Linked DNA regions of Homo sapiens: all the other regions are linked to region 2. The links are contacts of gene promoters, found by promoter capture Hi-C in blood cells and fetal thymus (Javierre and others, 2016). All regions are on one chromosome and are shown on one strand. The core of a region is centred on a gene start or on the middle of the fragment in contact, and the rest is flanking DNA. Distances in the headings are between cores, read along the strand shown. Region 1 overlaps ATM (ATM serine/threonine kinase). Region 2 holds the start of DDX10 (DEAD-box helicase 10). Region 3 overlaps NPAT (nuclear protein, coactivator of histone transcription). Region 4 overlaps ATM (ATM serine/threonine kinase). Region 5 overlaps ATM (ATM serine/threonine kinase). Region 6 overlaps NPAT (nuclear protein, coactivator of histone transcription). Region 7 overlaps ATM (ATM serine/threonine kinase).

What was found. Contacts are between HindIII fragments. The CHiCAGO score rates a contact against its expected background, and 5 or more counts as called.
Region 1: a fragment that was not itself captured here is called in contact with the fragment with the promoter of DDX10 in region 2 in 6 of 17 cell types (total CD4 T cells, naive CD4 T cells, naive CD8 T cells and 3 more); the score reaches 6.6 in total CD4 T cells.
Region 3: a fragment that was not itself captured here is called in contact with the fragment with the promoter of DDX10 in region 2 in 2 of 17 cell types (total CD4 T cells and total CD8 T cells); the score reaches 6.2 in total CD4 T cells.
Region 4: a fragment that was not itself captured here is called in contact with the fragment with the promoter of DDX10 in region 2 in 6 of 17 cell types (total CD8 T cells, total CD4 T cells, naive CD4 T cells and 3 more); the score reaches 7.4 in total CD8 T cells.
Region 5: a contact is called between a fragment that was not itself captured here and the fragment with the promoter of DDX10 in region 2, in 2 of 17 cell types (naive CD4 T cells and total CD8 T cells). The highest score is 5.3, in naive CD4 T cells.
Region 6: a contact is called between a fragment that was not itself captured here and the fragment with the promoter of DDX10 in region 2, in 3 of 17 cell types (total CD4 T cells, erythroblasts and naive CD4 T cells). The highest score is 6.5, in total CD4 T cells.
Region 7: a fragment that was not itself captured here is called in contact with the fragment with the promoter of DDX10 in region 2 in 3 of 17 cell types (naive CD4 T cells, activated CD4 T cells and total CD4 T cells); the score reaches 6.1 in naive CD4 T cells.

The regions. Positions count from the first base shown.
Region 1 is chr11:108,306,229-108,309,829 of GRCh38, reverse strand. ATM (ATM serine/threonine kinase) reads right to left here. Exons shown (of 63, transcript NM_000051.4): 38 at 1,846-1,933. It also overlaps a transcript of C11orf65 not described here. Among named protein-coding and RNA genes, the nearest start is that of ATM, 85 kb to the right of the region's middle. The HindIII fragment of the contact is 1,394 bases long and covers 936-2,329 here.
Region 2 is chr11:108,662,967-108,666,677 of GRCh38, reverse strand. It overlaps DDX10 (DEAD-box helicase 10), which reads right to left and starts at 1,609. Exons shown (of 18, transcript NM_004398.4): 1 at 1,339-1,609. The coding sequence starts at 1,524. The HindIII fragment of the contact is 12,853 bases long and covers 1-3,711 here.
Region 3 is chr11:108,191,324-108,194,946 of GRCh38, reverse strand. NPAT (nuclear protein, coactivator of histone transcription) reads left to right here. Exons shown (of 18, transcript NM_002519.3): 3 at 930-990; 4 at 2,757-2,829. Among named protein-coding and RNA genes, the nearest start is that of NPAT, 30 kb to the left of the region's middle. The HindIII fragment of the contact is 1,146 bases long and covers 751-1,896 here.
Region 4 is chr11:108,353,003-108,356,850 of GRCh38, reverse strand. It overlaps ATM (ATM serine/threonine kinase), which reads right to left. Exons shown (of 63, transcript NM_000051.4): 60 at 2,971-3,085; 61 at 1,977-2,040. It also overlaps a transcript of C11orf65 not described here. Among named protein-coding and RNA genes, the nearest start is that of C11orf65, 110 kb to the left of the region's middle. The HindIII fragment of the contact is 171 bases long and covers 2,249-2,419 here.
Region 5 is chr11:108,277,013-108,280,507 of GRCh38, reverse strand. ATM (ATM serine/threonine kinase) reads right to left here. Exons shown (of 63, transcript NM_000051.4): 23 at 900-1,017. Among named protein-coding and RNA genes, the nearest start is that of ATM, 56 kb to the right of the region's middle. RefSeq lists an enhancer at 2,573-3,372. The HindIII fragment of the contact is 588 bases long and covers 962-1,549 here.
Region 6 is chr11:108,210,701-108,214,476 of GRCh38, reverse strand. The region is part of intron 1 of NPAT (nuclear protein, coactivator of histone transcription); the gene reads left to right. Among named protein-coding and RNA genes, the nearest start is that of NPAT, 10 kb to the left of the region's middle. The HindIII fragment of the contact is 5,376 bases long and covers 1-3,776 here.
Region 7 is chr11:108,332,243-108,334,830 of GRCh38, reverse strand. It overlaps ATM (ATM serine/threonine kinase), which reads right to left. Exons shown (of 63, transcript NM_000051.4): 53 at 1,931-2,069; 54 at 863-945. It also overlaps a transcript of C11orf65 not described here. Among named protein-coding and RNA genes, the nearest start is that of ATM, 110 kb to the right of the region's middle. The HindIII fragment of the contact is 1,130 bases long and covers 686-1,815 here.

The DNA of each region.
Region 1 (3,601 bases), core at 383-2,882, 360 kb after region 2:
GAATAGCTAATACAAATGCACACAAGCACCCCCCAACACACACTTTAAAACAGTCAATTTAATAAAAAATATTGTTTCATCTAAGACACAAATACATGTCTTTCCTATTGTGACTTATTTTCTCCTTAATGTATTGCCTAGGTTGAGTTACTTAATAAAAATCTTCCACTGTGTTAATAGGTAGGTCAAGATTGAAAGGGACCATAGATAGTATCTTTTTCAAAACTAGCATTGTAGAGATGGGACATGGTAGTGCTTAAGAGCACTAGTGTTGAAGTACAATACAGGTAGGTTCAAATCTAGCTATATTGCCTACTACCAGCTGTGTGATCTTCAGCAACTTAACTTCTTAAACCTCAGTTTCCTAGTTTCCTTACTTGCAAATGCTGGAACAACATGGACCTTGGAGAATGGGTGCAACAATTAAATAATGCCTGCAAAGCTGATGAATAAGGCACACCCTACTACACAGCAAGCACTCAACTAAAGTTAATTTTCCGATGAATGTTAAGTTCAGAGAAGTGAAATAATTTCCCCATGGAAAGGAAGACACTACAGACATTATTCTGATTTTGAAAGATGATAAGACTGAGGTTCAAAGACAGCAAGCAATTTTTTTGTTGTTGTTGTTTTATTGTTGTTCTTTGTTTTTGCCCAACATACTGTACAGGATAACAAGTAATTTTTACACAGCACAAGCTTGGACTTGAATGCATGTCTTTACCCGTTTTTCTATATCCCATTCATACTTTCTCCAGGAATATTCTTCAGGATCTTATTCAGCATTAAAATGGAATATGAAGAATTTTTATCTTCTCCAACTCCTGCTAATGTCAACACCATTCTACCCCAATGGTAAGTCTGAAATGAATGACTCAAAGGTAAAACTGCCTCCCAACACCAAGAAAACAAATGCTCTCCACTACATTAAAGCTTCTGATAGGCCTCCTCAGAAGATAATCTGGTATAAAACTCTAAGGTAAAATAACCAGAAGCAAAGACACTGAAAAGCATAAAACTTCTTTTTCTACTAGAGAAGAAGAATGGTTTAAGACTACATAGGAATTAATTTTTTAAGATATTAATGCATTTAGGCTTAAAAACATTTCATTTTTCACTCACCTCTCCCTCTCATTCTTTACCAACCACCCCTACCACCACCATACACACTTATGAGACATCGATTCCTACCTATTCAAATTATAGGCCTACTACACTATTTCTTCAGAGTTCTGGTCAACTCTCAAGCAGTACTCATCAGTCAGACCATCCATTCTAGCAATTTCTGTATGCACTGTTAAAAATCTCATGAGAAATAACAGGAACAAAGATACTATACTATAAAACAATTTACCAGAAACAAGAAAATAAACATTGTCACAGCACAGTATTGCCACAGATTTTGAGACCACTGCACACAGTAAAGAAACTTACATCTTAAAATAAAGATACATAAAGAAGACATTTACACAACTCTATTTACTTCTTAGAACTAAAGCAAAGAGAAAAGTAAAAAGAGGGGTAATACAGCTAAATGTAACTTGGAAAAACACTTGCTCCTATCCCTAACATAGATGAAATAAATTGGAGCCAAGAAGGCTGCATAATTTAACAAAGGTAACATGGTTACTGGTACAGCTGGTACTAGAATTGAGAGTTCTTGACACTGATTTAACCAAACTGCTATCCTGAATATGGATTACTGCAAGGAGATATAAATATCACACAAATTAAATATAACACTTTGCAACACCTTCACCTAAAATAATCATGTTAAAATTCAGCCGATAGTTAACAAGTTACACTCTAGATCCTAAACGTAAGAAGCAACACTCATTACATTACCTCTTTTGTCTTCTCATGTAGTCCACAACAGCAAGCATTGTTCTTTGTGATTTTTTATCCAAACAGCATCGGAAAAAGTGCTCTGACTCTGACAAACAAAAATATCTCCCCTCAGTCCCAGGCATTCTTGCTTACACACCTTCTTCCTTCTTGTTTATGTGTCTGTCTCCCACTATGCTATAAGGTTCTGGTGGGCAGTACCTAACACAAAATTGGTTCTGAAGGAATTTAATAGGATTTCTTTTGCTTTTAAAAGAAACTGTTATCTTAAAAAAAGTGAGAACTTACATTGTAATTTATATTTTATTTCAAAGGAGGACTAATTAATTGATTCAATAAGATCTTTTATGTGCTAGGTCCTCAGTATATAAGCATGAACAAGACAGATCATGTCAGACCACACAGAACTCACTGACTAGCCTGGGACATTACAACACAATATGATAAGTGTTATAATAGGAAAGTTTAAAATGCTACAGAAGCTTAGCAGAGGGAACCTCACCTAGACAAGAAAAGTTTCATAGAAAAAGTGATACTGGCCAAGTGCAATGGCTCATGCCTGTAATCCCAGCACTTTGGGAGGCTGATGCGGACGGATCACTTGAGGCCAAGTTTGAGACCAGCCTGGCCAACATGGTGAAACCCTATCTCTATTAAAAACACAAAAATTAGCAGGGCATGCTGGCACACATCTGTAATCCCAGCTATTCAGGAGGCTGAGGCACGGGAATTGCTTGATCCTGAGGGGCAGAGGTTGCAGTGAGCCGAGATTGCACCACTGCACTCCAGCCTGGGTGACACAGCGAGACTCTGTCTCAAGAGAAAAAAAGAAAAAAAAAAAAGAAAAAAGAAAAAGTGATATCTGAAAGAAGAGTAATAGTCATCAGAGCAGGAAAGGATAGTGCTACAGGCAATAATAATAATATCTGAGATGGCTGGAAGCAAGAAATAACTTGGAAAATTTAATGAAAGAATTTCAACTGTGCTAAATCATGGAGCTAGAAAGCAGTAAGGATGCTAAGGGCAGAGAGAAACAAATGGACTAAGTTATTCATAATATGGAATTGGCAAGATTTGGTAATCAGATGAAATACGTGAGAGAGGTTTCTAGAGTAAGCAACTGAGTGCCATTTGTCAAAAAGGTACACATTTAAAAAAGTAGGCTGGGGGAAGGGATGAAGAAGATGACACGTTTGCTTTTGGACAGCTGAGTTTGAGATGCACATGGGACGTTTAGTGAAGGCAATGAGGCTTATAGCCATCAGAAAAGATACACCATTTAAATTTTACAAAAATATGTATTTCCTTTTCAATAACAGAATTTTATATGTGAAGTTTAAATTTTCACTTAAGGTAATAAAAATATTGGCACTGTATACAGATAAAATAAAACAGTTACTTTACCTTCCAATGGTTGTGACATAAATACATAAGTGATAAACATGAAAAAAGTCTTGGCCATGTTCATGATAACAAATTACCAGATTATCATAAACAATGATTACCTTAAACTATGTAATAAAAATTGTTTTTAATAGTACTGTAAATTACATATTAAAGTTTTAAATGCTTAAATCACTTATACCTGTATTTTCCCAATTAAAGATAAGAGATACATTTTAGATAGTTTACAAAGCCTCTATGAGAATTTTTATTTTAGGATTTTCATTTCAGTGGCCTAAGGAAAATTCATATAAGCACATTCTAGATCATTTAGAGAACAGCCTATAATCTAGTAGGATCACAGGATGGGCAT
Region 2 (3,711 bases), core at 360-2,859:
CCACAGGCCAAGGAATGCCAGCAGCCACCAGAAGCTACAAGAGGCAGGAAACAGATTCTCCCCTAGAACCTCTGGAGGGAGCAAGTCCCTGCTGACACCTTGATTTTGGCCCAGTGAAACTGATTTCAGACGTATGGCCTCCAGAACTGTGACAAGGTAAATCTCTGTTGTTGCTGGGCTTTTTTGTTTGTTTGTTTAAGACAGAGTCTCACTCATGTCACCCAGTCTGGAGTGCAATGGTGCGATCTGGGCTCACTGCAACCTCTGCCTCCCGGGTTCAAGCGATTCTCTTGCCTCAGCCTCCCGAGTAGCTGGGATTACAGGCACCCACCACTAGGCCCAGCTAATTTTTTTGTATTTTTAGTAGAGGCGGGGTTTCACCATGTTGGTCAGGCTGGTCTCGAACTCCTGACCTCAAGATCTCTGTTGTTTTAAGCCGCCAAGTTTGTGGTAATTTGTTACAATGGCAACCTTAGTTACAAGAATGTTCCATCTGTTAAATCCCTGATTGTACTGCACTAGAAGGGGGCTGAGAAGCTGAAAGATGTGGGTGAAGACCAACAAACATGGGATTTAGGGAAAGGGAAAAGAGGAATTGACAGACCTGTGGAGTCTGGAGGTTGGGGGAAGAAGTCAGGAGGTCAAAGTGATCATTACAGGTATACTCATCTGGGAACACCAGCTACAATGTGGGGATGATAGGTGACAGAAACAGACCAGCGGTCCAGCTTTTCTAGGCCAATTCTTGGATGGGGACATGAAGCCTGTGGAGAAAATGAGGTGGCCACAGGAAGGAGCATAGATGATGTTGAGGGATGCAGTCTGGCTTCATGGTTAAAAGCAAAGGCTTTGGGATTAGAAAGACATGGATCTAGCTTCCAATTCCACACCACCTACTAAGCGTGAAAGATTCGGACAAGTTTCATTCCTCTTAGAACCTCAATTATCTCATCTGTTAAATAGGATTATTAATATCCATACCTCAGATCAAGTCAAACAATTACTGTAAGCACATGGTGAGTGCTTAAAAATGTAGGTGTCATTATTACCACTATTGTCATCAGTATTATTAATATGAATATGACTGTAGCTATTACAGCATTAGTCTCCCTACCCTTAGGTACGGCCGCATTTCTATTATTTTTTTAGGAACAGTGTGGCAAGCAGAAGAGTGGCCAGAACGGTGCAGAGGTTTGAGCTGTGGCACCCGGCGTGACCTCTCATTCCCGGCCGGGTCCCGGTGACAGATCCGCCGCCTCCACTCTGCAACTCCTCGCCGCAGTGAGACGCTGCCCCGCTGCTGGCCGGCCCGAGCCCCCTCCCCAGCGCCGGCCTCACCTTTTCATAGTTCTGCATGAGGCGGCTGATACTCTCGCGCTCGACCTGCCATTCGGGTTTCTTCAGTTGCTTCCTCAACTGCTTCTTTTTGTTCTGCCTATGGCTGTGTTTTTTCTTCCAGCGATTGAAGCTCCGCACCGGGTCGGGTCGGGCTCCCGAACCCGGAGAGTTGGCCGTTTTGCCCATTGCGGCGGCGGCGGCGACAGCTCGGATCAACCCCAGACACGAGACACCTAAGGCCAGACTCACGGAACCAGCATGGGACAAACGCACAGAGGCGCATGCGCGAACTCAGAAGCCCGCCCCCGAGCTTTTGAAACCGGGGCACGCGCCAATGACGTCAGGAAAAGGAGGGCTGTGATTGGCGAATTGGCTCCTGCTGGGAGGGGCAGCCTGGGGAAACGGGGGCGCAGCACTCCACGGAAGGGGGCGAGCTGAGCCGAGCCGGGAGCACGCCGGCTCTTTAAAAAAAAACGCATGCGCACTGTTGTTGTTACTATGGTGACGTCATACACTGACCCTTTAAGGGCTATTAACACATTTGCTCCAGGTTCAACTTTGCTAAGCGTTCGTGAGTATGTGTGTAAACACATACAATCTGTGAATGAAAATTGTGACCCTCGTTTTGCACTTTTCGGGCCAACGAGCCAAAAGATTTGCCCAGAAGTAAACAGCTAGTTAGTGACTTCTGATTTCCATCCATGGTGGTTGTACTTCCTCAGGAATAAAAATGAATATTCTATATTCTTCTTATGCCCCTCTGGGTTTTCCTTTTCCTCTGGGCCCCTCAGACTCTAGCTGCAACAGCAAGGAAACTGGAACGGAATCAAATTGAATTTGCCTTAAAATGCTTTTATGGAGACAAAATGATAACTAAACGTAAGGAGGTAGGTAATAGAGGCCGGGCACGGTGGCTCACGCCTGTAATTCCAGCAATTTGGGAGGTCGAGGTGGGTGGATCACCTGAGGTCAGGAGGTCGAGACCAGCCTGGCCAATATGGTGATGCCCTGTCTCTGCTAAAAATACAAAAATTAGCCAGGCGTGGTGGTGCACACCTATAATCCTAGCTACTTGGGAGGCTGAGGCAGGAGAATCGCTTGAACCCCGGGGGCGGAGGTTATAGTGAGCCAAGATCGCCCCACTTCACCACAGCCTGGGTGAAAGAGTGAAACTCCGTCAAAAAAAAAAAAAAAAGGAGGTAATAGAAAAGTTATTGCAAGTTGGACATTTAAGTGAACTGGCTTTCAATGAATTGAATTTTTTGACACATTTACCTACAGCCTCCAGGAAAACACCGGATGTGGGTGGGAGAGCTTAGCTGTAGCAAAGGAGATTGGAAAATTGAGTTCAAAGTTCACAGGCAGAATTTTGGGCTCTCAAATTTCCTTTCCAACCCCACATATCCAGATCACTACTCTCAACTCTATGCCCATCCTCCAAACAAGACATGGCTTATTGGAAGGGAGTGAGGACAGGAGGTGAACAAGAGAATTTCCACACTCAGGAACACTAGATGTGGTAGACAGTAAAGCTCAATAAGGAGTGATTACATGAAAGTGTATATACATCCTCAAAAAATTAAAAATAGAACTCCACGTGAGCCAGCAATTTCACTTCTGGGTATGCATAGCCAAAATAATCGAAAGCAGGGTCTCAGATATTTGCATACCGTGTTCACCACAGCACTATAGCTAAAATGTGGAAGCAACCCAGGTGTCTATCAACTGATGAATGAGTAAACAAAACATAATATGTACCTAAAATGGAATATTATTCAGCCTTCATAAAGAAGGAATTTCTGACACATGCCACAACGTGGATAAACTTTAAGAATATTAAGCTAAGTGAAATAAGCCAGTCACAAAAGGACAAATACTATATATGGTTCTATTTATATGAGAAACTTAGAGTTGTCAAAATAATAGAGAAAGTAGACTTGTGGTTGCCAGGGACTCAGGCAACCAGGGGGTTACTGTTTAATCAGTGCAGAGTTCCAGTTTGGTAAGATGAAAAGAGTTCTGCAGATTGGTTGCACAACAATGAGAATGTAATTAATGCAACTGAATTGTATACTTACAAATGGCTAAAATGGTAAATTTTATGTGATGTGTATTTTACTACATATGTATACCACATATGCATACCTACAGAACGATAAGGCCCTCAGCTATAACTCACTTTTTTCCTAAAACTGTAGGAGTCAGGCATATATGCGCCCCAGGCAAGAAACTGGAAGGTTCAACTCTAGGAAAACTGAATGTCCAAGAGAAAGACCTCAATAACATCTAGGGGCCAGGCACGGTGGCTCATAGCTATAATCCCAGCACTTTCTGAGGCCAAGGTGGGAGGATTGCTTGAACCCGGAAGTTCGA
Region 3 (3,623 bases), core at 74-2,573, 470 kb after region 2:
GAGGCTGAGACAGGAGAATCGCTTGAACCCAGGAGACAGAGGTTTTGGTGAGCCGAGATTGTGCCACTGCACTCCAGCCTGGGCAACAGAGCAAGACTCCATCTCAAAAAAAAAAAAAAAATACTGAAAACAGGCCAGGCGTGATGGCTCACACCTTTAATCCCAGCACTGTGGGAGGCTGAGGTAGGAACATGGCTTGAAGCCAGGAGTTCGAGGCTATAGTAAGCTGTGAGCAGCCACTGTACTCCAGCCTGTGTGACAGAGCAAGACCCTGTCTCTAAAAAATAAAAATAAATTTTAAAAACTGGTGACAACGAAGATGTCTTTCAAAAATTGACAAACTCTGATGTGTTCATAACAGCAATACTCCACTACTCAGCAATAGAAAGCAACATGCTATTGATTCACACAATAACGTGGATGAATATTAAATAAATCCTTCTGATTTCTTCTAAATTAACAATTCTGAACAAATAACAAATTGTAGATAGTGGGAGCCAGATTTCTCACTGTGTGAGGAAGAAGATACAAATAAACATAATAATGAAACCAGTGGTGTTGGGTTATAGTCTGAGATATTGGTATGACACTGTAGTTATTTTAATATATATATATACAGCTAGATGATACAAATGCTTGTGTATATGCATTTGTACATGTATGTATAGCTGTCTGCTGAGAGGGTCTGGAAGCAGTGATACCCAAGTAGCTATAATGTCCTAGTCAAACAGGCAAGATTCTTTAGAAGCTTGGATGCAAACCCTAATTTCAGTGGCTATTTTCATTTTCGATTACCTGCTTCTTTACCCTTTCCTCATCGCTACTCTGCAGTCAGATCTTTTATTAAGTTGAATGGTAGAATCTTTTCTTGTGAGAAATTATTGGTAGTATTATACAATTTTGGTAATATTTGATCTTTTTCTTTTCAGTCCTTATTTGGAAAAAACTTGACAACAATTTTAAATGAGTATGTAGCTATGAAAACAAAAGGTAAGAGTTCTGATTTGGAGTTTTTTTGCTGATGTATACAATATTTATCTACTTGATTTAGTTAAAAATGATTTCTAAAGGTTATTAATGTCTCATAAAAGCCTTGAAAAAACTTGTCCCTGTTGTAATGAGATAAATTTTTCTGGGACACATCTAATTTGTTTGTGGGTTTTGGTTTTTTGTTTTGTTTTGTTTTTTTGGTTGTTGTTTTTTGTTTTTTTGGTTTTTTTTGAGACGGAGTTTCAATCTTGTTGCCCAGGCTGGAGTGCAGTGGCGTAATCTCAGCTCACTGCAACCTCCAGCTCCTGGATTCAAGCGATTCTCCTCAGTCAGCCTCCCAAGTAGCTGAGAATACAGGCATGCGCCACCATGCCCGGCTAATTTTGTATTTTTAGTAGAGCCAGGGTTTCTCCATGTTGGTCAGGCTGGTCTCGAACTCCCGACCTCAGGTGATCCACCCACCTCGGCCTCCCAAAGTGCTGGGATTACAGGTGTGAGCCACTGCCCCCAGCCATTTGTTTGTGTTTACATTGAGTGGTACATAAATTGCAACAATCTTTATGTTAGCAAAAATAACCCAAAAACTACCTTTAAAAAATATGTAAAATAAAACTCTTACCTCTGTGTTATCTACACTGATAAACAGACATCACTATGTGTTAAAAAGTTTTAAACTGACATTTTAATTTTAATTCTATGTAGTCTAAGTCTGAACACAGAAGCCAGTCATACACTGGCTTATAGTTACTAGAATATAAAATTCTACTTGCCTAAATTAAGGATGTTTTAGAGGGAAAGTTTTGACTGCTTATTCTCTAATATTGATTATTTTCAATAGCTTACAACATTAACAAAACAATTAGCACTAAAGAATTCGCATAAGATGATAACAAAGGAAAAGAAGCTTGACATTTTTTGACATTGTCTGTGTATAAGCATTGTGCTACGTGCTTTCATATGTTTTTTTTCTCATTTAGTCTTTTCTTTGTTTGTTTTTTTTTTGAGACGGGAGTCTCGCTCTGTTGCCCAGGCTGGAGTGCAATGGCGCGATCTCGGCTCACCGCAACCTCCGTCTCCCGGGTTCAAGCAGTTCTCCTGTCTCAGTCTCCCGAGTAGCTGGGACTATAGGCGCACGCCACCATGCCCAGCTAATATTTGTGTTTTTAGTAGAGACAGGGTTTCACTATGTTGGCCAGGTTGGTCTCAAACTCCTGACCTCATGATCTGCCCACCTCAGCCTCCCAAAGTGCTGGGATTACAGGCGTGAGCCACCATGCCCGGCCTCTCATTTAGTCTTTAGAATAACCCAGTGAGAGAGATTGTTTAAAGCCATTTTTAAATATGAGAAAATTGAGGATTAAATTTCCACACTTATAAGGAATTTGCATAACCTTTATGATAATTATTATAAGACAGATTACTTTAATTCACTTTCATATGTCACATGATATCAGATAGAACAAAGATCAAAAAATTGTTTCTCCTTTTTTTAATAAAATGAAGGTGTAAAATTATTGGCCAAAAAATGCTTCAGAGATTTTACAGATGTCCATTTCTACTCATATTGTATCTGATACTCAGTGGCTTTAGAAGAGAAAGCAACCGCATTATAGCTTTGCAAGCTATTTTACAACATAGATTTATTTCTCATTTTCCAACATACTGTCAATAATTGAGAGACAAGGTTTTTTGTGTGTCTTTGTTCAGAATGAATGATGAAATTTCTTCAGCTGGGTTTATTAAGAACCTTTTCTCCTATGATTTAGAAACATCAAATAATGTCCCAGCAATAATGTCATCTCTATGGAAGAAATTGGACCATACACTTTCTCAGATCAGGTAATAAGCTATTAGAATGTGCCTAATGATTTTGGAATGCAAATACACTTTGGGTTTAAATCTTCTTAAGACCTACACAGTGTACTTATATAACACTCATCCAGTTTTGAAATTACTCTAGAGGTTGCTGGTACTGTGGAGGTTACTGACTGACATAATTTGAAATAAATAGCATACTTTTAATAAAATATTTAGAAAACTAAGATATGTAGTAGTTTAATGACATTTCCAAGTTTCCATAGCAATTTAAAGGCAGATATATTGTTAGAATACAAATCACCTAATCCCAGGCCACTGTGAATTCCCTTAGGCAACTGTCTCTTTATTACATATTCACAGAATTGATGCGTTGAACCCATGCCCACTTGGTTTCTTAACTTGTAAAGAAAAAAGCTTGAAGAATAATGCTAATTCTGAAATCTTCTGTTATCAATTTTATGAAAATCTCATATTTGACTATAGAATTTGTTATGAAAACCATAGTCTCTTAACCTTTCTTTCAGAGCTATAAGTGACTACCCCACCTAACTTCAGCATGGGTTTCATTTTCTTCCTCTGCTTAACCTGCTAAAATGGCTCCAAATGCTTTCTTCTTAACTCTGGACCACATCTTACTTGGTAGTCTTATCTTTATATTTCTCTTTCCTGACTCGAGTTTTGTGGATCTTGTTGGAGACTTACTTGACATATTTTTTATGATAATGGCACCGTGTCTGTGACTTTATCGAATAAAGGGGTGGGCCACTCTAATTCATACTAAAAGAATTAACTTGTACTGTGAATTTTTCCATGTT
Region 4 (3,848 bases), core at 1,085-3,584, 310 kb after region 2:
AATCCAAAGTCCTTACAATGGCAAAGGATCTGGCCACTGTCACTTCTCTCATTTGATCTCCTACTACTCTAAAAAGTGAAGTCCATAAGCAGTTTGGCATTAAACTAGTAAGATTTCTGAGGCCCTAAAAGAACTACCTTCTTCTGGTGAGTGTTAGGTAGGATACAAGTACTGGAAGAAACTCCCAAATCCACCTTAGCATAAAAATCCCTTCTGACTGAAACTAGGTAGAGTAAAATACTAAAGAATATGTTAAGCTGCTTTGACTCTTTAATTTGAAAAGTTTGGGCTTTTTTTTTTTTTTTTTTTTAAGACAGACAGAGTCTTGCTCTTGTCGCCCAGGCTGGAGGGCAATGGTGCAATTTCAGCTCACTACAACCTCCACCTCCTGGGTTCAAGCGATTCTCCTGCCTCAGCCTCCTGAGTAGCTGGGATTACAGGTGCCCGCCATCACGCCCAGCTAATTTTTGCATTTTTATTAGAGACGGGGTTTCACCATGTTGGCCAAACTGGTCTTGAACTCCTGACCTCAGGTGATCCACCTGTCTCGGCCTCTCAAAGTGCTGGGATTACAGGCATGAGCCACCGCGCCCAGCCCTCTTTTTCTTACATGAAAAAGTGCAAGATAATATAACTTTAGAGTTTAATTTCGACATTATTGAGGCATCCATGTTACCATGTATTATTTTTTTAAAATGTTACACATCATGCTTATTTTCTTATCATTTATTCTTACTGCAGAACCAATGGCAAACTGTAACAAATGACAACATGTATGAACAGAATTTGAAATCGGTAAAAGAAAAAAGAATGTATTTTTAACCTTGGGAATAGCACAGCCTTGGATTTAATTTTACCAACGTATTATTGGGACCTATTTCAGCAAACTCCTTGTAGCAAAATCTGTATTACCATCTGCAGTCCAAAGGAGATCTATAAAGATGCCTCGGTTCATAAAGGTGCACACAGGACCACCCTGATGGACTGTTACTCATCTTCCAAGGGATAAAGCCCCACCCTTATTGACCACAGGCTTAATGGTTAATGCCAATGAATTAAGACAGTTCTCATATCCTAGTTGAACAGTAGGAGAGATTTTTAAAAATGCACATATTCCTGCCCCATCTCTAGAAACCTGGTTTGAATTTGATCAGCATCAATGTTTTTTAAATGCAGTAAAAGTAATACTAACATGCAGCCAGTCCAACATAAATCAGGTTAAAGGAAGAAAAGCTGAGTAGTGGAAAAGTGGCAAGCCCATACTGCACTCTACCTGCCATGCTTCCCTGGGGAGGCCACACTCCTGATTTCTTGTCTCACATACCCTTACCAGATTGGTGAATGACTGGCATAGGTACTAACAGCACAGACACTGAAATTTGTTTGACTTCCTTTTTTCTGCCCTGGATCAAGACAAGGCAGTGATCCTGATTACATGTGTTTGCTCTGCAGGCCCAAACCCTATTCAGGTGAGCTGTCCCAAAGTTAAGACAGCAGAGAGGTACTGAGGTAGCACCAGCAGTAAACTAGTCTGGCCCTCATTCCTAAGCCATGTTCCTCTAGTAATGATGCTGACAATTTGATCTCCATTTGTCTGACTAATTAGTTCTGAACCTGAGCAGGGAAAAAGGAGATATAAATTTCTGATTTTTCTTAAACCCTAATGGAAACCATTCTGAAAATAATAATACCATATGGAATATCTAAATGTCAAAGAATTGATTTATGAATTGAAAACTAGAGACTACTTACAATGCTCTAACATTCCAAGAAACTCAAGGGGGCTGAAGGCATTTCTAAACCAGTATTTTTGGATGTGTGAAAAGGCTAAGTGCACAATCTCCTCCTTTCTGCTGCCCAGCCACATCCCCCTATGTTAAAATGAAGCAGTGCTCTTCACATCAGTGACTTCCTGATGAGATACACAGTCTACCTGGTAAGAAAAAAAATAAAGTCTTCCTTATAAAATACTTTACCTCTACAATGGTTAACAGAGTTTCCTGAGAGTTTCTCATCACTTCCATGGTTTTCTCACAGCATCTAGAGTCAAACACATTATAAATACGGATTTTGTTACACACCAATGTTGTCAACGTATCTTTATCTGTATACTCTCATGTGTAGTATGCTGAGCCTATGCTTAATAATCTACATATCTGTATCTCAAAATAGCATAATACTTGGCAGAGTGGGCTTTCATTAGACGTTTGAAATGAATACAAATATGTATTTGACTATTTCACAAGCTTGGCATTTACAAGAATAACACAACACTATTGATTACAGGCATGCACCACTGGGCTCAGCTCTCAGTCTTTGATTATTGTGGCAATTATTAGTTTACACTGACTGCAATCTGCCCCAATCCAAGTTGAGTACACAGACCTATGCTGGGAAAACTACAAGGAACTGCAAAGCTTTTTTAGTAGCACAATGTTATACTAGAACACAAGCTCCTATAAATAAAAATGTAGTCTCTTCTATATGCACAGTGATGAGCACCCAATAGTAGTTTGGATCATTAAGAAGGAGTCAGCCAGGATAGAGGTGTTAAAAGTAAAGGTGGGATGCTTCCAGAGGAGGTTTGGAATAACAGTATGTATGTTACATGGGCTTAGGTCCCAGGTGGGTGGAAGGAAGAGGAACTATTATTGCTTTTACCCAGGGTCTTTTCCTTAGTATTGATAAGGCACTGGAATACGATTCTAGCACTAAATTCTATAATCTATACAAATCTCTAACCCGTGTGTGTGTGTGTGTGTGTGTGTGTGTGTGTGTGTTTGTGTGTGTGTATTTTTTTAGATACAGGGTCTTGCTGTATTGCCTAGGCTGGACTCAAACTCCTGGGCTCAAACAATCCTCCCACTTCAGCCTCTTGAGCAGCTGGGATTACAGGTGCAAAGAACCATGCCCAGCCCATGTAATTTTGACATCAAAAATTATTTCCCTCCTTTACTTCATATCACTTACCTTCTGAAGACACCTTCAACACCCGTAATGCCCATGCCATCCACAATATCTCTGGTGAGTCTAAAAGGAACTGTCTCAGGAGTAGGAAGGATTTTGCCCTGTTCAAAAGCAACACCTAAAGTAAAGAATACAGTGAAGTTAGGAGGTTTGACAGCTAATTTACTTTCTTTCCAGTTAGAATGTGAACTTTACAAAGGCAAGAAACCACATGTTACCTACGTTCTATGAACACTAGTATGTACAGTAGTTTACTTCTGCTCTGGCTGCCTTCCTCATCTTTGTCACTGTCTGTGAGATCCACCTCAAATCCAAATAACCTAACTACTTCTTAACCCAACTAGAGAAATCTAGGTTAAAGGGTGATTTTTAAAAATGAAGTAACTACTGGTATAATTTAAAATGGAGATGATATATTTATATTTAAAAAATTTTTAGGCTGGGTGTGGTGGCTCCCGCCTGTAATCCCAGCACCTTGAGGCTGAGGAGGCCTGACACCTGAGGTCAGGAGTTAAGAGACCAGCCTGGCCAACATGGTGAAACCTTGTCTCCACTAAAAATACAAAAATTAGCTGGGTGTGGTAGCAGGTGCCTATAATCCCAGTTACTCGGGAGGCTGAGACAGGAGAATCACTTGAACCTGGGAGGTGAAGGATACATGGAGCTGAGATCGTGCCATTGCACTCCAGCCTGGGCGACAAGAGTGAAACTCCATCAAAAAAAAAAAATTAATGACATTTTATGAGATAATTATATGTTCACTTCGAGTTGTAAGAAATCATACAGAAAAGATCATCCCTTATGCCTTTTCCCCATTTCACCCCAACTGTAATGTCCTGCAAAACTATACTACTACTGACATCGATGCAGTCAAGATATAT
Region 5 (3,495 bases), core at 6-2,505, 390 kb after region 2:
CCATAAAAATTAAAAGATCTAAAAATAAAGCAAAAAGTATAAAAGATCCAAGTTCTTGTATTAACTTTGTTCATGACAATATGCTTCTATTAATGCAGTGTAAGACAGAGTTAGCCTTTTTGGTAACTGTAATACAATGTTGATTCATACTATAATCACAAGATACAAAACTTCCTAGGTCTTTTTCTAAATGAATTGCTGTCAGATCAGTATTTTCCCTTTTTGCAGATGACAGGCTGATTTAAAATGTATAATATACATTATCTCATTAGATTTTATGTTATTTACACTTATCTTTCTAATCTATTGAAATTCTTTTCTAAACTCACATTCTTTCAATTGTTCCTTTCAATTTCCTGCTATCACAGACTTGACAGTTATTTAACTACCTTAAATACTTGTAAGAAACAAACCAGGGCATAAATAAATGAAAAAATTTGAACTCTAAGATAATCATTACCATAAAAAATATATTATTCTACAGAAACGTGAAATATCACAAGTTTCACTGTAAACACCACAATGATTTGATTTTGTGTGAGATTCTTCTCCTCAATCCATTTCTTCCCATTGTCACCTGTTCCCTTAATTAGCTTTTAATCAGATCACATATAAAAGGATTTTTAAAATAAAAAAGGGAGCCATTTATACTCCCATAAAAACTCAGTTAAATTTTGGGTTTCTCCATAAAAATGCTAAACCAAAAGAAATTGCTATGATTTGACCCATTGTGACCCAGAAAGAATGCAGTTTCAATCAATTCATACAGTTGTTTTAGAGCAGCTTTATACTGTAAACTACTGGATTATAAACTCTCTTATACCAAACTTGGTGAAGTAATTTATGGGATATTCATAGCAAGCATATGATAACAGCAAATACATGTTACTTAAAATTACCATTTCTCTCATTCCTTCCTGAGCTTTCAAGTATGCATTTTCAAAAGCTGTTTGCTGAAGCTTCAAAGGAAGTGCTTTCAGTAACCTGGAAGAATCTCCCTTCGTGTCCTGGAACAATCTTAAAACAAGCAAGCAAACAAACAAACAAAAAGTGAAATAATTTTCTAATTTCAAACCCTACTTTCCAAAGCATATTCCAGAACAAAAATAAATCACTCTGTGAGACATAATAACATACTAGCTCTTTCTTAAAGACTAACAAAACCTGAGTTTATTTAAAGAGGTTCAGACCAGCAGCTTAGTATTAAGGTCTTGAATACAAAATCTATTTTCTCCTAGAACTGAAGAGGGTCTCAAAATATATTTTAACTATTGCTCAAATTTGAACAGCACTGAACTCAAACTAGCCAGAAAAGATAAACTGTTCTCTGGCCGAACACCAATTAGTTGAGTCCACAGATTCCAATGTCAACCTGCTCTAACATTTAATCACTCTGAAAGCGGGTAAGTTAATGTTTTTATGTACCATTTAAATTTTGTTTTATGTGATGGAAAAAAGTTGATCAGTACACCTTTTGCGTAACACCCACATATTTAAGGATAACTCTTTAATCAACTTTGTCTTTTATCCTTTTTTAGTAATCGAAGCTTTTATAATTGTTTATGTTCCTCTGATTCTTCTAGTTTCACTCACTGCTCTTAAAATAGCTGAACATTAGATATCTGCTATTGTCTGAATGTTTAACCCCTCCAAATGTCATGTTGAAATCTGATCCCCATTAGGTTATGCCTAATGGGAGGTGTCGGAGTCATGGGGGCAGATCCCTCACGAATAGATTAAGGCCTGAGGGTAAGGAATGAGTGAGTTCTCACTATTCAGTTCCCACAAGGGCTGGTTATTAAAAAAAAGAGCCTGGCATGGCCTTCCCCGCCTCCACCCTTGCTTCCTCTCTCACCATGTGATCTCTGCACACACTGATTCCTCTTTGCCTTCTGCCATGAGTCTGAGGCCCTTACCAGATGTAGACGCCATATGCCAAATAAACCTCTTTTCTTTGTAAATATCCAGCCTCAGGTATTCCTTTATAGCAACACAAAGGGACTAAGACAAAATCTAACAAGTGTAAAATTAAAAAAAAGAATGCTACTTGCATGTTATTCTTGAATTTATACTTTTTGAATCTTCAGTTTTTTTAATGCCACCACTACACTGCCGCCTTATTACATTCAATTCAGTCTTATATTACCTCAGTCCTTAAAGTTCAGCATACATTTGCTTTTATCTGTGAAATTTAATAAGGGCTTGAACTACTAAACATATTCATTAGAAATCCTTGCAATGCATTATGGTCTTACTAAAAACAGTTCCAAACCTGAGGAGTTAGACACAAAATCTAGTTTATGAAAACATTACTGTCGGCATATTCAAATACTGAAATATTAGTTTTAATACTTTATGTGACTGCTGAACAATATAGTAATCTTTTATTATTGATTGCTTACATTTTAAAGTTACTCAAATGATTTTCAGCTTTGATGTTTTTGAAGCATCATGTAATTTTTTTTCAAGTACATTCATTTATTTTAAAACAGTTATTGGATACCTATCACATGCCAAGTATTGTTTTAGGTGCTAAAAATACAACAATGAACAGAACAGACAAAAACCAGTGCCTTTAGGAACATATATACTAGTGGAATACGGAGAAGTAAATATATTAAAATATGTTTCACGTTATCATAAATACTAGAGAAAAATAAAACAAGGGAACAGCAAGATGGCAACATAGGAACAGTTCTGGTCTGCAGCTCCCAGTGAGATCAACGCAGAAGGTGGTGATTTCTGCATTTCCAACTGAGGTAGATGGCTCATCTCATTGGGACTGGTTAGACAGTGGGTGCAGCCCACGGAGGGAGAGTCAAAGCAGGGTGGGGTGTAGCCTCACCCGGGAAGCACAAGGGGTCGGGGAACTCCCTCCCCTAGCCAAGGGAAGCCGTGAGGGACTATGCTGTGAGGGGCTATGCTGTGAGGAATGGTGGATTCCTGCCCAGATACTACGCTTTTCCCGCAGTCTTTGCAACCCGCAGACCAAGAGATTCCCTTGGGTGCCTACACCACCAGGGCCCTGGGTTTAAAGCACAAAGCTGGGCGGCCATTTGGGCAGACACTGAGCTAGCTGCAAGAGTGTTTTTTCATACCCCAGTGGCACCTGGAACGCCAGCGAGACGGACCCATTCACTCCCCTAGAAAGGGGGCTGAAGCCAGGGAGCCAAGTGGTCTAGCTCAGCGGATCCCACCCCCATGGAGACCAGCAAGTTAAGATCCACTGGCTTGAAATTCTCGCTGCCAGCAGAACAGTCTGAAGTCGACCTGGGACACTGAAGCTTGGTGGGGGGAGGGGCGTCTGCAATTACTGAGGCTTCAGTAGGATGTTTTCCCCTCACAGTATAAACACAGCCAGTAGGAAGTTCGAACTGGGTGGAGCCCAACATAGTGCCACAAAGCCACTGTAGCCAGACTGCCTCTCTAGATTCCTCCTCTCTGGGCAGGGTATCTCTGAAAGACAGGCAGCAGCCCCAGTCAGGAGCTTATAGA
Region 6 (3,776 bases), core at 48-2,547, 450 kb after region 2:
TATACTATTAAGTCACTTCCAATTCCCCCTTGCCCCGTCCTCTGCCAACCACAAATCTACTTTCTGTATCTATACATGTGCCTTGCCTGGACATTGCACATAAATGAAATAGAATATTTCGCTTTTTGTGTCTGACTTTCACATAGCATAATGTTTTCAGCCTTATTCCATGTTGTAGCAGGTATTAGTACTTCATTCCTTTTTATAGCTGAATATTTCATTATATGAATATGCCATATTTTGTTTGTCCATTCATTAATGGACACTGTTATGAAAAATGCAGGCCAGCTGTAATGGCTCACCCTGTAATCCCAACACTTTGGGAGGCCAAGGCAGGAGGATTGCTTGAAGCCAGGGGAGCGAGACCAGCCTGGGCAGCATACTGAGACACCCCATCTGTACCAATAAGTAAGTAATTAGCTGGGCATTTATTTGGTGGTACATGCCTCTAGTCCTAGCTACTGGGTTGGCTGAAGTGGGAGGATCACTTCAGCCCAGGAGTTCAAGGTTATAGTGAGCTATGATTGAGCCACTCTACTTCAGCCTGGGTGACAGAGCAAGACTCTGTCTCTGAAAAAAAATAAACTGACCATAAATGTCTGGATTCCATGCTTCAGAGTTGACTAGATAAATAAGAAAGGTCTGGATTTTTTATTTTGTTCCACTAATTTCTGTGTCTAACCTCATGCCCGTACATCGTCTGGATTACTGTAGCTTTACAGTAAGTTTTGAAATTGGTAAGTGTAAGTGCTTCAACTTTTTCTTCATTTTCAAGATTATTTTGGCTATTCCAGCCCCCTTGTATTACCTTAGGAGTTTTAGGATGTTTGTCAATTTCTGCACAAAAGGCAGTTGAGATTATGATAGGAATTGTGTTGAATGTATCGGTGAATTTTGGGAGTATTGAGTTTTTAACAATATTGAACCTTTCAGTCCATGAACACAGTATGTCTTTGCGTGGATTTAGGTCTTTAATTTCCTCCAGTGACGTTTTCCAGTTTTTAGTATGCAAGTCCTTTACTTTTGTTAAACTTATTCCTAAGTATTTTATTTCTTTTGATGCTATTGTAACTAGCATTGCATTCTTAATTTTTGGTAGTTCATTGAGATTTATTGACTTTTATATATTCACTGTGTATCCTGCAACCTTGTCGAAGTCATTTATTAGCTCTAATAGTTTTTGTTTTGTTTCGTTTTGTTTTTGGGACAGAGTTTCGCTCTTGTTGCCCAGGCTGGAGTGCAATGGCGCAATCTTGGCTCACCACAACCTCTGCCTCCCGGGTTCAAGCGATTCTCCTGCCTCAGCCTCTGGAATAGCTGGGATTACAGGCATGCATCACCTTGCCCAGCTAACTTTGTATTTTTAGTAGCACCAGGGTTTCTCCATGTTGGTCAGGCTGGTCTCGAACTCCCGACCTCAGGTGATTTGCTGGCCTTGGCCTCCCAAAGTGCTGGATTATAGGCATGAGCCACCATGCCCCGCCCAGGGAGGTTTCTTAACTCCTTTTTTTTTTTTTTTTTTTTTTTTTTTGAGACAGAGTCTTGCTCTGTTGCCCAGGCTGGAGTGCAATGGCACCATCTCGGCTCATTGCAACCTCCACCTCCCTGGTTCAAGTGATTCCCCTGCCTCAGCCTCCCTAGCAGCTGGGATTAAGGTGGACACCACCATGCCTGGCTCATTTTTTTGTATTTTTAGTAGAGACGGGGTTTCACCATGTTGGCCAGACTGGTCTCGAACTCCTGACCTCAGGCAATCTGCCTGCCTTGGCCTCCCAGAGTGCTGGGATTATAGGTATGAGCCGTGGTGCCTGGCCTCTAATAGTTTTTTTGTTGTTGTTGTTGTTGTTTTTTATGGCTTCCTTAGGATTTTCTATATAAGACATGTCATCTGCAAATAGGGGTAATCTTGATTTTTTCCTTTCCAATCTGGATGCTTTTTTTTTTTTTCTTTTGAGACGGAGTCTCTCTCTGTTGCCCAGGCTAGAGTGCAGTGGCCCTATCTCAGCTCACTGCAACCTCCACCTCCCGGATTCAAGCAATTCTCCTGCCTCTGCCTCCTGAGTAGTTGGCATTACAGGCATGCACCACCACACCTGGCTAATTTTTGTATTTTTAGTAGAGACGGGGTTTCACCATGTTGAGCAGGCTGGTCTGGAACTCCTGACCTCAAATGATCCGCCCAGCTCGGCCTCCCAAAGTGCTGGGATTACAGGTGTGAGCCACTGCACCCGGCCTGGATGCTTTTTATTTCAAGTTTTTTCCTAATTGCCCTGGCTAGAGGATACATGCAATGTTGAATAGAAATGACAAGAACAGACCTTCTTACCTTTTCCCTGATCTTATGGGGAAAGGTTTGAATTTTAAACCATTGAAGATGATGTTACTTGGCTTTTTTTTTTTTTAATAGATAACTCTATGAGGTTGAGGAAATTTCTTTTTATTTCTAGTGTTTTTATCATGAAAGGGTGTTGGATTTTGTTTTTTTTGGTTTCTTTGGTAGAGTTTTGTTTTGTTTTGTTTTGCTTTTGAAACAGGTTCTTACTCTGTCATCCAGGCTGGACTGCAGTGGCATGATTATGGCCCACTGCAGCCTCAGCCTCCCAGACTAAAACTATCCTTCTACCTCACCCTCCCAAGTAACTGGAACTATAGGCACATGCCACCATACCCAGCTAAATTTTTAATTTTTTGCAGAGATGGGGGTCTCACTATATTGCCCAGATTGGTTGGATTTTGTTCAGTTCTTTTTCCATGATAATGTGACTTTCGTCTTTTACGTTAGGGATATAGTATATTACACTGATTTATTTTTATTCAACCAACCTTGCATTACTGCATTAAATCCCACTTGGTCATGGTGCATCACTGTTTTTATATGTTGCTGGACTTGATTTGCTAGTATTTTGTTAAGGATTTTTTTTTTTTTTTTTCCTGAAGACAGGGTCTCACTCTGTCACCTATTCTGGAGTGCAGTGGCCCAATCATGGCTCACTGCAGCCTTGACTTCCCAGGCTCAAGTGATCCTCTCATTTCAGCCTCCCAAGTAGCTGGGACCACAGGTGCACACCACCATGTCCAGCTAACTTTTGTATTTTTTGTAGAGATGGCATTTTTGCCATTATGCCCAGGCTGGTCTGGAACTCCTGAGCTCAAGCAATCCTCCTGCCTCGGCCTCCCACAGTGCTGGGATTACAGGCGTGAGCCACTGTGCCCACCCTGTTGAGGACTTTTATGTTCACTTTGTTTCTTTTCTTTTTTTTTTTAGACGGTGTCTCACTCTGTTGCCAAGCTGGAATGCAGTGGCGCGATCTCGGCTCACTGCAACCTCTGACTCCCTGGTTCAAGCGATTCTGTCCCAGCCTCCCGAGTAGCTGGGATTACAGGCACACACCACCAGGCGCAGCTAATTTTTGTATTTGTAGTAGAGATGGGTTTTCACCATGTTGGCCAGGATGGTCTCAATCTCCTGACCTCATGATCCACCCACCTCGGCCTCCCAAAATGCTGGGATTATAGGCATGAGCCATTGACCCTGGCTCCCATGTCCAGTTTCATAAGGATTATTGGCGTGTAGTTTTGTGATGTCTTTCTCTTGTTTTGGTATCAGGGCAATATTGGTCTAAAAGAATGGGTTGAGAAGTCCTCTCCTACTATTTCAAAAAGAGTTTGTAAAGGATTGGTGTTTCATTCAATGTTTTGTAGAATTCACCAGTGAGGGCATTTGATCCCAGTTGGGCTTTTCCTCGTGAGAGGTTTCTTTATTACAAATTCCATTT
Region 7 (2,588 bases), core at 1-2,500, 330 kb after region 2:
AGGCCGGGTGTGGTGGCTCACGCTCGTAACTTTAACTACTGTTTCATCAAAGATTCACTAATATATGTAAAGTCATCTGAGAAATAACTCCTCACGAAAACATAAAGTAAATTTTGGAAAACAGTAGAAGGAGTTTTCTGGGTTATAACTGCTAAATCTGGCATTTTAAGGAAACATTCAGCGAAATCACCTAGCTGATATAGCTAGAAAAACAGCAGTTAATCCACATGATACAGCTACATTTCAAATCAAGTAACTAGATACTAAGCACTAAACTGCAAAATGAAAAGAAAGACAATGTATTTAAGATGATCATTTTCTAAACTTATAACCCTTATTACATATATCCCTGCCCACATGAAATTACTTCCATTATTTCTTGCAATAAAAGAATATTAGAACAGAGCTAAGTGTATCATGCATATGAAGTCAGCTTAATATTATAATAATACATACTATATTACTTAATACTGTGATATATCACAGCCAATACATTTTACTGCACATAGAATTTTTAAAAACAATATATGACAATTGGAACCTTCCTTGCCAAGTCAAAAATTAATCTTGGCATAAGCACACGGAAACTCTCCTTCTGGCCAATGAAAGTAACAGTCTATAGACCTTCATAAGAAAGATGGGAGGTGTAGAACAGAAGGCAATGGAAAAGAAAGCAGGAGAAGCTTTTGAGTATTTTAGGGCTTGGGCAAAGGAAATATAATACTGAGAAATTATAGGTTGAAACATATGAAATTTGCCAATATTTAACCAATTTTGACCTACATAAAAATACTATTTCAAATGGTTCAATCTAATAAAAAAAATTTAGTTTAAAAAAAATCAAGAGTTAATTGCAAATTACCTTAATTTCCATAGTAGGGACAACAACATCTTCTAAATTCTTAAGTTTAGTAATTGGCTGGTCTGCTGGAATATTTATGCCTTCTGTATTTAAAAATGAAGAGATTTTAGTGACAAACTGAGGAACAGCATTGAAGGTCAAGCAGGAATAGTCAGCAGATACCACTGGCCCCAACTTGTTGCTAATCTGTGGTTCAGGCTCTGATTGAGAAATGAAGACTCTGGGCTTTGGCCACTATGCAGCTCAGAGTCAAAGCTCAACAGTGGTTAATGTAGCTTCAAGTAAATTTGCAGGTTACCTGACAAGGGTAACTAGACCAGATTCCACCTGAGGAACCAGACTAAACATCTTAAAATAATTACGTAATAGTTTGCATAGTACATAGATAACATACTCCTGTCACATTACCATTAAATGCAACTAAAAGACATGTCAATACTTTTTGTTTGCTTAGAGAAACAATATGTGAAGTCCCATTCGTTTTCAAGTAATAAGAATTTAAACTTGAAGATATGATTCTGAATAGAAAAAAATACAATTATTAAAGTATGGGGAGATACTTAGAAGCATACTTAGAGACTAGTCACAAAACCAAAGATTATATAGCAGCTTGTAATTATTTGAACTGACACAGCAAGAATAATAATTAAATAATGGCATTTTAGCACCTATGGAAGAAATGGTAAAGCCTTTTTTTGTTTTTAAGTCCCAGGGCAGTTTTAGTAACCACATCGTTTAAAAAAACTTTTGAGGCTAGAAATGTTCAGTTATTCAATTATTTTAATAGACTTGCCTCTATTATGCAATTCTCTGTAATAAGTATGTATGCCAGAAGATTATCAGAAGAAATCAAATAATTAATTTAGTGTAGTCACCTATTACCAGTTCTATTAAGAGATATTAAGTGAAAAAGTAACCAGGGAATGCTGAAGCCATCAGATATAAATTAAGCTTTTGGATTACGTTTGTGATTTTAAGCAGATTTACTTATTAGGCTCTATAACTAATATATCTCTACAGAGAGTAACACAGCAAGAAAGTAACGTTTCTTCTTTAAAAAAAACATACTTCTCTGAGTCTTCCACTGAGTGGCATCTAAGTTTGCTAATATAATATAAGCATCACAAAGTGCCTCAACACTTCTGACCATCTGAGGTCTCCTACTTCTGATAGTACATATTATTCTATTTGCAGCCTCTGTTCGATCCTATTAATAAAAAACAAAAAACATTACATAAGGAACTACCCAACATTTAAACTTCTCAGAGTTAGAAAAACAAAGAGAAAAACAGAATTTATGCACAAATCTAGACAATGGAATGATTATAATTCCTCAGATACAAACAAAACAGTCATAAATGAAATACATCAAAGATACATACTCTCGTCAATGACTTAGGTGCCTTTCAAAATCTATTGTTTCACTTTGCCAACTGCTTTGAGGAAAAAAGTAAACTACTACTGGTATCTCCTATGCTTTGACAAATATTAAGGAATTTTGAACCAATTTTAATTAATTAATTAATTAATTAATTTGAGACAGAGTTTCGCTCTTGTTGCCCAGGCTGGAGTGCAATGGCGCAACCTTGGCTCACTGCAACCTCCGCCTCCCGAGTTCAAGTGATTCTCCTGCCTCAGCCTCCCGAGTAGCTGGGACTACAGGTGCCCACCACCATGCCCAGCTGTTTTTTGCATTTTTAGTAGAGACAGGGTTTTGCTGTGTCGG